Regions from separate parts of the Homo sapiens genome. Here all the other regions are linked to region 3. Evidence: promoter capture Hi-C in 16 types of primary human blood cells and fetal thymus (Javierre and others, 2016). All regions are on one chromosome and are shown on one strand. Each heading gives the region's core, a stretch centred on a gene start or on the middle of the fragment in contact. The rest is flanking DNA. Distances are from core to core; before and after follow the strand shown.

Region 1 (4,388 bases), core at 296-2,795, 240 kb before region 3:
TGAGAGAGCTTGGACTCGCTGATCGGAGGTCCCTGCCAGCTGGAACAGTGCTGGGTACCCCATTGCAAAAGGAAGGTGGCTGGTTTCTCACAGAACTCCTCAGGGACAGCTGGGAAAAGCTAGTGCCCAGGGCTGGGAGATTGCTGAGACCAGGCTTCTTGTAAACAAGAAAGGCAGGAAGACGGGGTTCCCTCCTCGAATCGTCAATTAATCAATAACTTGGCCTGAGAAGGGGCAGGGCCAGTGACCTCCAGACTGTTTGCTGGCGGCGCAGCCACTATCACCCTGTCTTCCAACTAATTCACAAACCCTTTGCAGCGCCCTCCCCAGCCCCCACAACCTGCCCCCTGCTGTCTTATCTGCAGGCTCCCTGCCCTGGCCCCAGATTCCAGACCCTTGTCCTGTCCTGGACTTTCCCTCTCAGGGAGCCCCTCTGCCCACAGCGTCCTCTCCATTGCCCGAACCAGCCAACTCCCAGCAGCGCTTCAGTCACCAGAGGCACAGCCTCGGAAAAGCTTCCCGGTGTCTCACATCTGTGTCCCCACCAGGTGGGCTTCCTTCCTCTAGGCCTCCAGATTCCCGCTCTGGTTTCTCCTCGGGCACTTGGACACTTGTGGAGTTATTTACAGCCTGGGCTTATCTCTCTCAACTTAGAGCGCAGCTCCTCCGGGAAGGGGCTGGTGTTTACTCCTCTCTTCACCACCCCCAGCCCCCTGAGCAGGCACTCCCTTCAGCTCGGCACCAAGCCTCTCTCTCCCTCCTACCCCTGCGTGAATAATTTCTATCTAAAGGAATGCCCTGCACATGTGCACAGTGGCATCTGACAGCTTCTGAGGTCCTTTCAGGAGCCTCTTCTCATCTGATTTGAGGGAGGTGGGGAGTCTCACCCTCCCGTGACAGAGGAGGACAAGGAGGCCCCAAGAAGTAGAGTGACACTTTCCCAAGGTCGCCCAGGTGGAGGGGTCAGGAGTGTCTCAGCGGAACTCCCGCTAGGGTCAAGGAGACTGACGGACAAGGACCGCTCCTGGGCTGGCCGCTCTGGATTGCGCCCCCTGAACAGAATGTCTTTTTCCATCTGCCCCTGCGGAGGTGGCCAGAAACTCCGTGGCCCTTGCGCCACCGTCAGCTGCACAGGACCAGGCGCTTCCATTGTGGTCCACGCCCGTCTCACTCCCTTTTCGCAAGCCTGCGGGAGGCAGGGACATTTTACAGAGGAGGAAACAGAGGCTGAGGGATGACTTGCCCACGACCGCCAAGCCAGCTTAGGCTCCCGGGTCTTGGTGCGCTCGCCCCATCCAGGGGACCCCAAAACGCCCTCCGCCGCCCCAGTCCCTGGCCTGTGCGCGTGGACGCGGGGTCCCTACTCACAGCCACTTGATGCCATAGCACACGCCGGTCTGGAGCGCCAGGGCGAAGAGCAGCGCCTCGCAGACCTGCGGCCGCGCCCTCATCGTCGCGCGGCGGGCGCGCCCGGGGTCACACCCAGGAGGAGCCGCGCCGAAGTCCTCCGCCTGCACGGCCGCCGCTGGTCCTGCACGCCGCCTGCAGCCGGGGAGAGCGGAGGCGGCGGGTTAAGGCGGCGCGCGGGCGGGGGAGGCGTTTTATTCAAATTACAAAGGAGGGGTCGGGGCCCGGGGAGGCCGAGCGCGGCGGGCGTCCCCTCCCGCTCCGCCCGGCCGGGGGACGCGTCCCGCGCCTGGCTCGAATTAGGCGCGGCCGAAGGCGTGTCTCCCAGCGTGGCCCCGGGCCCCAACGCGCCTTCGAGCCCCTCTGGCCGGGGCAGCCGGAAGGAGGGACAGGAGGCGGCAGAACCGGAGACCCAGGAGAGACCGGGCAGACACAGCGAGAGGGAGAAGGACGCTCAGAGGACAAGGCTGAGAGCCACGGAGACAGAGGGGGAAACCCGGACAGACGCAACCTGGGACGGAAAGGAGAGGAATGAGGAATCAGGAGTCCAGGCGAGGCAGCAGAGTCGAGGACCCGGAGCTGGGGCTTATCCCTGCAATATTGAGCATTAGTTAATAGGGCCTCGGCAATTCTCCTTCCCAAACGTGTTTCAGTTTACCTCCTCAGTAAGCTGGGGCAATTCGGGCACAATTCCGCTTTTATAAAGAACGTTCCCTGGCCGGGCAGGGTGGCTCACGCCTGTAATCCCAGCACTTTGGGAGGTCGAGGCGGGCGGGTCACCTGAGGTCAGGAGCTCGAGACCAGCCTGCCCAACATGGCAAAACCCCGTCTCTACTACGAATACAAAAAATTAGCCGGGCGTGGTGGCGGGCGCCTGTAATCCCAGCTACTCGGGAGGCTGAGGCAGGAGAACCGCTTGAACCCGGGAGGCGGAGGTTGCAGCGAGCGGAGATTGCGCCACTGCACTCTAGCCTGGGCGACAAGAGCGAAACTCCGTCTCAAACAAACAGACAAACAAAAAAAGTTCCCTAACACGATCGCATCTGCTCCTCCCAGCACCCCGTGAGATAGGCACTATCGCTGCCTCATCTCACAGATGAGGAAACTGAGGCACAGAGGTGGGGTTCAGCTAGGGAGCGGCAAGCCGGGTGTCCGGCGAAATCAGGAAATGGGGCTTGCTCGGGGCCCTGCTTTCTCGGTGTGGGAAGGGGAGGATGGGAAACGGGATGGTAGGGCTCTTTGTACAGTGAGGATTCCGAGTCTCCAAGTCCGTCTTTAGCCGCTCCACTTTGGAGGGTGGGAGTGGAAGCATGCGGGCTGGGACTGGGCAGCCCCGCCTTAGCGAAGCGGGGAAGCTCGCGGGGCTGGCGCGGTGTTGCCTCTGGCCTCCAGGCGGCGCCCTCGGGCCGCGGAGGAGAGGCTGCCCCGCCCGCCCGCAGCCCGCGGAGCAGCTATCTCCGCTTTTTTTCTCCTTCACTTCATTCTCACCTCATTAACTCCCTTCCCAGCTTCTCCCAAATTTACCAACACCTGGCGTTCGCCCGGAGTCAGACACAGCCCCAGCCCCTCTCCCCTCGGGAGGAGCAGAGACAAAGGGATTCCTTTCTAAGGGTTTGGGGAGTTGGAAAAGGAGGCGCCCACGGTAGTGGGGGCGCTGGAGCAGAAAAGGGACGTTCTTATCTGGCTCTGTGAGCTTGGGCAAGCCCTCAGCCACCCCAGCCTCGGTGTCCCCTTCCATAAGAACGAGGAATGGGGCTTCGCCGTGCGTCCCCCGAGGACCCCGTCTCCCTGCAGCCTGCGGGGCTCAGCGCCCCTCTGCTATTTGCACCGCGACGCCACCTGCGTGGCGCGTTCCTGCGCGTGGGTAGTCAGCACGCAGAGATGGGAAGCCCCACTGTTTTCTGGAGCCTGTCGGCAAAACCCACAGGAAGGCGAGGAGAAGCCTGGATCGTACAGTTTTTTTCCTCCGCAGAGCCCCGCAGCTAGCGCCCAGCACAGGGGCGCCTGCGACAAACATGCCGTCAAGGCTGGGGGTCTCAGAGGGGTTCTCGGTGTAACCCAGTCCCGTCCTCCCACCCAGCCTGTATCCAAATCCTTTGTCTTCCTGGTCCTGCAAGTTTCTTGCACTTCTCAGAACGAGAAAAATATCCGCTGGATATGGAGGGGGGAATCAAAACTCCAGTCACCGTCTTCCCCTCTCCCAAAGTGCGCCGCCCCCCGAAGGCACCCGGCATTCCTGGGTGGGGAGGGGGCGGGGGCTGCAAGAGGACGGAGGCGCGCGGACTCACAGCGGGGGATCTGTGTCCAGCCTGGTCTCCCAGGGAGAGGAGGAGCCCCCTAGGTCGCACAGCGGACGGGGACCCAGGCCTCCAGCCCCGCCCAGCTCTTTCGGTGCAGCCCCGGCTGTCCCAAGGCTCTCCCTCCGCCGCCCAAGCTCGTCGCGCGGGGAGGCAGCGCCTGGCCCGAGCCTCTGGGTCCTGACGGACTGTTCCTGTCCCTTGTACGAGCGCCCGGGACAGCCGCGCAGGCCACGGGGTCACCTTCCGCCTGAGCTCGCGGGTCAGGGTGCACGCGCCTCCTGAAGCCCCCAGCCCGCCAGGGGGCGCTAAGCCGGGGCTCGAGGAGGGGGGAATCGCGGCTGCCTCCTGCGTCGCGGGCTGGGGTCAAGTCCTCTTCCTGGGCCCCCGCTTCTCCGTCTGGGGATGGGACGACGTGTCGAGGGAGTGCCCCCTGTGTCCTGGTCGTTCTATAGGACACTTGCCGTGGGCCGCCCTGACCTGCCCGGCCCCTTGCTTGGGGCCGGGCGCGTAGTGGGCCGCGCCAGGCGTAGCACCTTTGGAGAGCGAGCGGTCACCTCCTCGAAGTTGGTCCGAGCTACCCTGCCTGCAGCGGGCCCGGGAGGCGGCCGCCTGGGGCTGTGCACAGGGAGAACACCACGAGCGCAGCGCCGCAGCCCAGCGCCGCCAACAGATGGTCATAGG
Region 2 (4,563 bases), core at 1,267-3,766, 220 kb after region 3:
GCCGTCAGTGGGCTCTGACTGCTCTCCCTGAAAGAGACCCCGGATCTTCCTACTTCCCTCTTATCACTGCCACAGACCGAGACGCCACCCCAATCCTGGCCTTGACCACAGCACCCTGACCTCTTATAATCTGTCCTGTACCTAGCAGCCAGAGTGATAATATAAAATCATCTGTCAGATCCTAAACCTCTTCTGTTTGAAAATCTCCAAGAAAATCCAGGCTATCCACAGTCTCCTCTCTGACTCTTGCCCATTTTCCCTTCCCTCACCACATTCCAGCTTTCCTGCTGTTCCTTCAACACAGCAAATTCATTCCTGCCACAGGGCCTTTGCTCCTGCAGTTTCCTCTCCCTGAATGCTCTTCCTCAGCTCCTCACACATGTCATTGTTTTCCCACATTTATCATTTCCTCATCATTTATTTCTTATCATGTGGGAACAGGGGCCTACTAAGTAGGTACTCACTAAAGACTAGTGAACAAGTGGCAAAATCAGGGCAGAAGCTCAGCTGCAGTGGACTGAGTGGTGAGTGCCAGGTGAGGACAAGGAAGGGTCCTAGGCCCTTATTTCCCCTTCCTCTGCCAAACCCCACTCTATCCCCAAGGTGGCCCTGTGCACATCCAGAAGGGATCGTCCCTGCAGCACATGGGCACTCTGTCCTGGCATCTGACGGGAAGGGCCCCTCAGCTGTGGGCCCTCCTCAGTGGTGCCCAAGTACAGGGTGTAGCATTTAAAGACTACTCTCTCTCAAAAAGGAGGACGGTGTCACTTAGACCCAGGCTTGCATCCAAAGCCCACCACTCACCAGCTCTGCTCCCTAAGGTAAGTCCCTTCCTTTCTTGGTGCCCCAGTGTCCTGTCTGCAGGGTAGGCAGCTGGGTTCCAGTTCTGCCACTGGCCAACCCCAACTATTGTGATGATCAGGCAAAGAATGGTGGCGAAGGTGCCCTGCATCCTCACTGTCCTTCCCAGCTGACACAGTGACCCTCGCAGGGCTGAGCATCCCAGGTGAGGTGTGCTCAGTGGGGAGGCCCCAAGCCTGCAGACAAGTGGCCTGGGCAAGAGGAGGCAGGAGAGTCGGACTCTCAGGAGTCCAACTCAGAAAAGTGCCAAAGAATGTGTGTGTGTGTGTGTGTGTGTGTGTGTGTGTGTGTGTGTGAGAGAGAGAGAGAGAGTGAGAGAGAAAGAGCAGGGGTACGGGGGGCAATGACTACTACCACAATAAGCCCACCCCTACATTTAAGGATGTTAGTCTTCTAAGCACTTGACCTATATCATCTCATTTAATTCTCACAATCACCTATTGAGGAAATTACTGTAATTCCCATTTTACGGATGAGAAAACAGTTTCCGGAAAGTGAAGTGACTTACCCCCAGAGTTACCCAGCTCATAAGGGCTTTGGAGCTGGGATTTATCCAGTTCTACATGACCTGAATACTGTGTTTTCTCCAGCACATGCTGAGCCGACTGCCCCCAATAGAACTGTCTTTTTTTTGCCCATGAAGAAAAGGAGGCTCAGAGAAGTGACTTACCCAAAGTCACACAAGGAGAAAATAGCAGGGTCACGATCAGAATCCAGTTCATCTGTCTCCAAAGCAAATGTTCCCACTATACCAAATCAAGGTCTCCTTCCCTAAGCCCTGCCAACGACCCCTCACACGCAGGAGCAGGGCAGACTAGCTCACAGTCTGGCCTCTGAGGTCCTCTCTCCCTCCTCTCGGCCTCAGCTGACTTACTGGCAGAGTGGGGTCCTGGGAGAGCTGCTGCGGACGTTCCTGTCAAGCAGTGAATCACTAAGGGCAAGCCTCGTTCTGGAGACATGTGCATCCCACGGGGGAATTAGACCTTAACCCAAAGGAATGTGGCTGTGATGGCGGAATTTCAGGCAGCTCGGCGTGGGGGTGGGGGCCCCTCACATCTTACCACCCATGAAGAAGGCTGGGTTCAGAGCCCCTTGGAGAGCGGTGGGTGCCCCCTACCCCACTACGAGAAATGGGCAGGCCATCTAGTGCTGTGGGATGGGCAGCCCCACGCCTGGCTGGGATCGGAGCGTTGCAGGAAACCTGAATTCAAATTCCGGTTTGCCCTTGCCTAGCTGTGTGTTCCTGGGCAAGTCACGGTCTTCAGGCCATTGTTTTCCCAGCTGTCAAATGGGAAGGCCGGCCTCACCCCTTTGCGGGAAAGATCCGCCAAGACAGGAGCGCTGGGGAACTCCCAGGGACCGAGGGAGGGTCAGCCCCGGCTCCACGCGCGCAGTGGGGATGGCGGGAGGGGAGTGTTTGGGGGGCGTCCCTTGGGACCAGCCCCCGCCTTGCGCTCGCTAGAGGCGCGCGACAGTGCGCCCCCCGAGGGCCGGCCAGCCTCGCCTGCCCGGCGGCTCCTACCTGGCTCAGCGCGGCCGCAGCTCCTCTCCCGGGCAGTCTCGGCACATTTTGCGCAAACCCGCCCCCGGGTCCCACCCCGCGCCAGACCCCGGGGTCACGGCCCGAGGAGGAGCAGGCCGCTCAGCTGCCCCACCGGAGCCCCCGCGCTCCGGCTGCAATTTAAATACCTCTCCCGCCGGCCCGCCCCGCCACGCCCCCCTCTGGCGAGGCCGTGGGGTCCTAGCGCCTGGCCCCGTGCCTCGGTTTATCCGGAGCCGGCGGGGGCGGAGTGGGGTGGGGCGGCGAAGCATCTTCACCACCCTGGGACCTCGGCCGGGAAGGGGCGGGGGCCCAGTGTGGGGGGATGAGAGGGCGGGAGGGAGAGGGGTTGCAGAGGAAGCGCCGTGGGAGCGAGGCCCATCCCAGCGGCCGCCGCACGTGCAGTTCGCGGCCCCGCGGGGTCCGGAGGGGGGCGCGGTGGCTCTAGGAGCCGCAGGTCCACAGAGGAAATCCGGCCTGGCCCCGATTTCCCAGCTGCTGGCGCCGCCGCACTTAACGCGGGGGCAAACAGGCGAGGTGACGGCGGGGCTGAATGCGGAAGGAAATGACCCTTCGCTGGCCCTGGGGCGGCCGCGGAGGGGGTTCCCCGCACCAAGCCGTCCACTCTGGTGGGTCCTGGCAGGTCACTTTTCCTCTCCGGATTGTGCTCTAGTGTCTGGACCCGTACTCCTCCATCATCTGCGGGACCCTTCAACAGCCTGTGAAACGGCACCATCAAAGTCCTGTTTTCGGATGGAGAAGCTGAGGCTAGGGGTGGGGGCAGTGTGTACACATGAAAACCAATTGTCTGAGACTAGTAAGGTCCCTATTTATAGCTGGGGAACCTGAGGCTCAGAAAAGGTTAAATGGCGTGTCCAAAGTCAACACAGCTAATAAGAATCAGTGATTTGAGCCCAATCTGTTCATAAAGCTAAGTCTGATTCAGTTTGGGCATTATCTTGCCCGAATTTTTAAAGTACTGTGCAAATATGGGGTGGCGGTATTGTCATTTAGATTGGAGGTTGAAGCAGATCTTTCCCAAAGCCACCTCTCTTCTAGATGCCTTGACCCTACCAAATCACAGGTACCCTGCCTTGCTGCCTGTGGACTCTAGTATGCGGGTCCCTAGAAGAGAGGGGCCCTGGCTGTCCTCCAGGTCCTGGTTCCAAGTGTAGAAGGGGCCTCTTCCACAGTGTTTCTCTTCCCTGATCGTCACCAGCCCTGAGAGTGGGGCAGGGTGCCCCATTTTACATGCATGAAAGTGACCACCCAGGGCCTTGTGGCAAATCAGGGTAAGGCTGGGCTCAGAAGCGGGATTCCCTGAAGTCTCTACAGTTACTGCCTTTTCTTACCCCTGTTCAGTCCACTGTGGAGATGGATCTGGGGAGATGGGGTCAACCCAGAGAGGACAAGCCATGATAGCAGGTGCCATAGGGGCCTGACCTAGTCTTAGAAGAGGAAATCAGGGAAGGCTTCCCTAAGGAGGAGGCCTGAGCTGCAGTGAGGGGATGGGCAGGAGGTGCAGGTAAGGAATCTCTCAGCAGGGCCTGCGAAGGGTATCCAAACCTCTTTCCCTTCCCTCCCAGCCACCCAAGGCCTCAGATCTATGTCCACAGGGTCCTAGCTGGTCCATCCAGCCCCCTCTCTGGTCTCTAGTGCTCCATTTGGTCAAATGGAACCTCAGTGCCCCTATCTGTAAAGTGGGAAAGATAGTAGCTACTACTTGGAGTTGGTGCTAGAACTAAGTGCAATGGATCCAGCTGGAGCCTGCACCCAGTGGTTGTTAGGCAACTTCTCACTGCCTTTATTGTGGCAGTTGGTGGATACTCCTATATCCTGTGGGCTTCCTTTTCCAGGTCCCTGTCCAAGGGGCCAAATGTTCAGGAAAGTGCTTTGAAGCTGCCCTGCAGTATGAGCAGAGTGACTGGATCATTCGGGCAGTTCCTGGCCTTGTGTATCAGACCAGCTCCCAGCCATCCAGACCCAGGCTCGCTGAGCACTGCCTCACCCTTCCCGGAGCTGCTACCAAGCAGAAATCACTGGGCCATGGCAGAGCTTCTGCTAGGGCCCAGGAGGGCGGGGCTGGGGCTATGGTGGGCTGGGGGTGAGTGCCCCACCTCCCACTCCCCCGCCCCCAGAGGCTGTGGTTGTGGTTAGTCAGC
Region 3 (4,027 bases), core at 1,106-3,605:
CTCCAACCGCTAGCGCCATCTTGGCCGCTACGTGTGACGCCACACGTAGCAGAGAGCGCAGCCGATTGGCTGGGAGACGGCAGCCCAGGAGAGGCGCGCGAAGCCAGAGACAGGAGGGTATGCAGGAGAAACCAAGGGAACTACAATCCCGGCCTTCCTTGCGCGTACGACAGCAAACCTGGAGCGAAAGAGGTTGGAGTTTGGATTCGGACCACAACTCCCAGCACCCTCCGCGATGTCTGTCCTTTTCTTTCATAACGCGGAGGAAAAGAAGGACAAGATGAATGGAGGCCTTTTGGTGTTTGTTCTCCGAAAGGCGGGAAAAGCGAACTACACCTCCCGACTGGCCGCGCGCGGCTGCGCCTGCGCCCTGTTACCTGTCGCCATCTTGCCCCTTCAGAGGCACCGCAAACAAACCCAATTCCTGGTGTCCCCTAGTCTTGGCGGAGGAGCCTTTTAGATGAGCCCCGAAAGGCCGGGCAGGTGGGTGACTCTCAGGCAGGGTCCTGGGAAGAGCTGGCAGGCCAGCCAGGCTAGAGGAGCGCCGGGCCAAGCATTCGGAGCCCGGCTTGGGGCTCCCAGCCCCATCCTCCGTTGTTTCCTAACGGGATCGTGGGGCTCCCCGGGGTGGACTCAGGGGGACTCTGGCTGGCCTGGTGCTGGGACTCTGGGGGTTTAGCTCTGGGAGACTCCCGGTGAGTCCAGGTCGTCTGGCTGGGTATCCGCTGGCTTACTCTCTCTCGGTTGTCCTCTCCGCTGGGGAGGGAGTGAGGCGCGGGTGCCGGCCGGGACCCCTGACAACAGCTACTGGCCCAGAGGGGCTTGGGTCGTGGACTTGACATTGGGACCGGCGCCGAGAGGTCCGGGTGAGGAGCCTGGGCTGGCTGCTCTTGTTGTGGTGCTGCTAGGGAGTGCGTGTTTGGAGAGGGGGCGGGGCGGGCTTGTCTCCTTGACACTTGAGTGGGGAAGGATCCTACAAGATCCTGGTTCCCCGAGCGGGCTCCGGAAACTACTGCCCGGGTTTCCGATGCGTTGCGGCCCCGCTCTGGGGTCCCCTGGCTAGGACGCGCCGGGATGCCGTGACGTGGTGCTCGGTTCGAGCAGTCGCCGGCCGCCTCCAAGATCCTGTCGGGAGGCGGGGACTGGCTTGTGGAGGGAGAGGATTCCTTTGGCTCTGCCCCTTCTTCCTCCTCCCCACCCCTTTTCTTTATGTCATACTGCCGGCTGGGGCGCGCAGTCCAGTTCTTCTTGCCTTGGGTTTGTTCTGAGCTGAGAGGACTATGGGAAGTAGGGGGAGGGGGGCTCACCTCGGGACACAGAGTTGGAGTTAGCAGCCCCAGCGCCTGGAACGGGATATAGCAGTTATTTCGGTTCGGTGTCTGACTTCTAGGCTAGACAGTGAGCTCGTTCATTCATTCATTCATCCATTCGTTTTGCTCAGTCGCGTCAACCATTCACTTACCCATTTAACAAATACTTAGAGCGGCTCTACTCTGTGCTAAGCAGGTATTGCGCGTGCCCCCAGAGCCGTGTCTTTTTGTCTTTTACACTAGGAAATTCCCAGTTCTAAGTAAGTTCCTGGCAGCTCAACTGTTGGTAAATGGCTGTTTAATAACTACAGGATCAAAATTCATATTCCATTAAGACTTGAGAGAGTATATATATATGTGTGTGTGTGTATATATATATGTATATATATATGTGTATATATATATATGTATGTATCGTTCCAATTTTAGTATATGTGTTGCTGAAGCGAGCACGAGGAGTTATTTATTAAGTTTCTTTAACTTGCTAGGAGCTTTACAAATTTTATCTCATGTAATTCATAAATGAGGAAGCTGACAGGAGTCAACTTGCCCCAGGTTGGTAGTACCACCTGTTTATTAAATGAAATGCCAGCCACTATGAAAGAACTTTATATATAGTGTTCTTTAATACGCGTAACAAACTGGGTGGTATTACCTCTGTTTTATAGATGTGTAAAGCTTAGGCTTAACCAGTAAGTTGAAAAGTTGGGACTAGAAACCTAGAGGTGTCTGGCTCTAAAGCCTGTGTTCTTTCCACTGTGATAGTTCAAATGACTTAATTCTTGATTTCTCAAAAGTTGGAAAGTGTGGTGGTGAGAAAGGATTGTAAAATAGTAATATCTTTTTGGTTTACTTCTTAGCCTGTGACTGGATCTCCAGGTGAGTGGCCCCTTGAATGTACTTTGGTACTTTGGTAATTTGACTTTTTTTTTTTGTTCTGGTAGGGAGGACAAGCTCTTTGGGGCTACCAAACAGAAGCAGCAATGCCTGTTGTGTGGCCAACCCTTCTGGATCTCAGCAGGGATGAATGCAAAAGAATTCTTCGAAAATTGGGTATGACGTTCATTGTTTGTTTTTTACCTCTCTCTGATACCTTTTTTCCCTTTCTGCCTAGGTCATAGCTGTTTGCATGGATGTCATATCTCACGCTACATCAGAAATTCTTTGGAGATACAGTTCCCATCTTACTCATTGTTGTTTCCCTCAGTGCCTAACATAGTGCTTTGTAAATAGTAGGTGTGTGAATTGTAATAATACTAGTAGCTAAGATTTATTGAGGGCTACTTGGCTATTCTGAGTCTTTTTTATACAACATCTAATTTAAATATTTTAAGAATTAGCTTTGTCCTTTGAAAGCCTAAAAGGTAGGTGTTTTTTGTTTGTTTGTTTTGTCTCGTCTCCATTTTACAGATGAAGCTTAGAAGCCAAGGTAATGGTGATAGACATGGAGTCAGTATTTGAACCAGGGAGTATGCTTTCAGTCTCACTTTAACATACTCTTAACCTTCATGATTGTATGTGTCAATTACATACTATTTCTGAATTCTAAGTTGATGTAAGCCATGCTCACTTTTTCAAATTATATTTTACTATCAATAATAAAACACATTTTATGCTTGTAATTTATTATTTAGTGTTTCTTTTCCCTTACAGCAGCCTTTCTCAACCAGCATTGAGGGAAAGAATTAAACCCTAATGCTAAGGTATCCATTGTATGTAAAGAACTAACTTCGCCCTGTGCATCTAGAGTGCTATTAGTTATTACTTTCCTTGGGAAAATTGAGAAAAAGAGTTATTACTCAAATCATTTTGTGTTCTGTAGTTCAAATGAGGATCTTTGGTTGAGAAATGCTGCCTTAGACTATGAGGACCTTGTCTTATTTACCACTGTAGTCTCTGGCTAGCACAATAAATGAAATAATTGAAAAAAATAATTTGAAAAAGAAGATTAAATGTTTTGGCAGTGGATATGCATTATTTAGATATCTGTGATTTTAAAGGAAAAGTATAGGTCTTGAATTTAGACAGACCTGGGGTCTTGGTATTATTACAAATGACCCATGTGACCAAGGACAAGTTATTTATTCTTCCTAAATTTGTTGATAGTTTTGTTAAAACAAAAAAAAAGAGGATAACACTCTCTGCCTCATTAGTTTGTTACGTGTGTTAACAGTATACATAAAGGGCCCGTCATAGTAAATCTTTGTTGGGAATTTTTCTTTGTAAATCAGATAGAATCATAGCTGCTCTGGCCCTGCCTGTCCTTTTTATTCCACCCAAGGCCACTATGAGGATTTCAAATCACTTTTTAGCAGCATCTTTTAAAGCAAGTCTAAGAGAGTTGTTTTTGGAGAGGGTGTGGGGGATGTCAATCTTTTTTTTTTTTAACCAAACTTTTAGTCCTAATCTGAAGATAGTTTTCTACACTTGCATACAATTAATATAACTTGTTAGTTGCCGATTATAAAGTTGGACTCATATTTATTTGATAGCTGAAATTGCAGAACATATCACAAAGACAGTAGATTGAATTGGGGTTTCTGGGCTTGGGGGCCTTTGAATTGAGAGATTATGTTTAAATATAAAAATGGTAACCTTTAAGTCTAAATTTATTCCTAATTTAATCAGAGCTGTGTGGGTAATGTTGCTGCAGAGTGCTTCTATATAAAAGAAAACAGTCATCTCGTATGGTAATATCATCTTCATTGACCCCTCAT

The links. Contacts are between HindIII fragments. The CHiCAGO score rates a contact against its expected background, and 5 or more counts as called.
Region 1: a contact is called between the fragment with the promoter of WNT11 here and a fragment that was not itself captured in region 3, in 1 of 17 cell types (megakaryocytes). The highest score is 6.9, in megakaryocytes.
Region 2: the fragment with the promoter of LRRC32 here is called in contact with a fragment that was not itself captured in region 3 in 1 of 17 cell types (naive B cells); the score reaches 5.5 in naive B cells.

The regions. Positions count from the first base shown.
Region 1 is chr11:76,204,957-76,209,344 of GRCh38, forward strand. It overlaps WNT11 (Wnt family member 11), which reads right to left and starts at 1,546. Exons shown (of 5, transcript NM_004626.3): 1 at 1,369-1,546. The coding sequence starts at 1,451. RefSeq lists silencers at 1,459-1,698, 2,679-2,898 and enhancers at 2,003-2,670, 4,005-4,388, 4,290-4,339. The HindIII fragment of the contact is 7,460 bases long and covers 514-4,388 here.
Region 2 is chr11:76,668,231-76,672,793 of GRCh38, forward strand. It overlaps LRRC32 (leucine rich repeat containing 32), which reads right to left and starts at 2,517. Exons shown (of 3, transcript NM_001128922.2): 1 at 2,384-2,517. RefSeq lists silencers at 2,272-2,401, 2,462-2,661, 4,394-4,563. The HindIII fragment of the contact is 10,336 bases long and covers 1-4,563 here.
Region 3 is chr11:76,444,646-76,448,672 of GRCh38, forward strand. It overlaps EMSY (EMSY transcriptional repressor, BRCA2 interacting), which reads left to right and starts at 373. Exons shown (of 22, transcript NM_001300942.2): 1 at 373-483; 2 at 2,255-2,363. The coding sequence starts at 2,294. It overlaps EMSY-DT (EMSY divergent transcript), which reads right to left and starts at 35. Exons shown (of 2, transcript NR_186348.1): 1 at 1-35. RefSeq lists enhancers at 1-13, 14-650, 351-580, 781-830, 1,080-1,374 and 1 more. The HindIII fragment of the contact is 738 bases long and covers 1,987-2,724 here.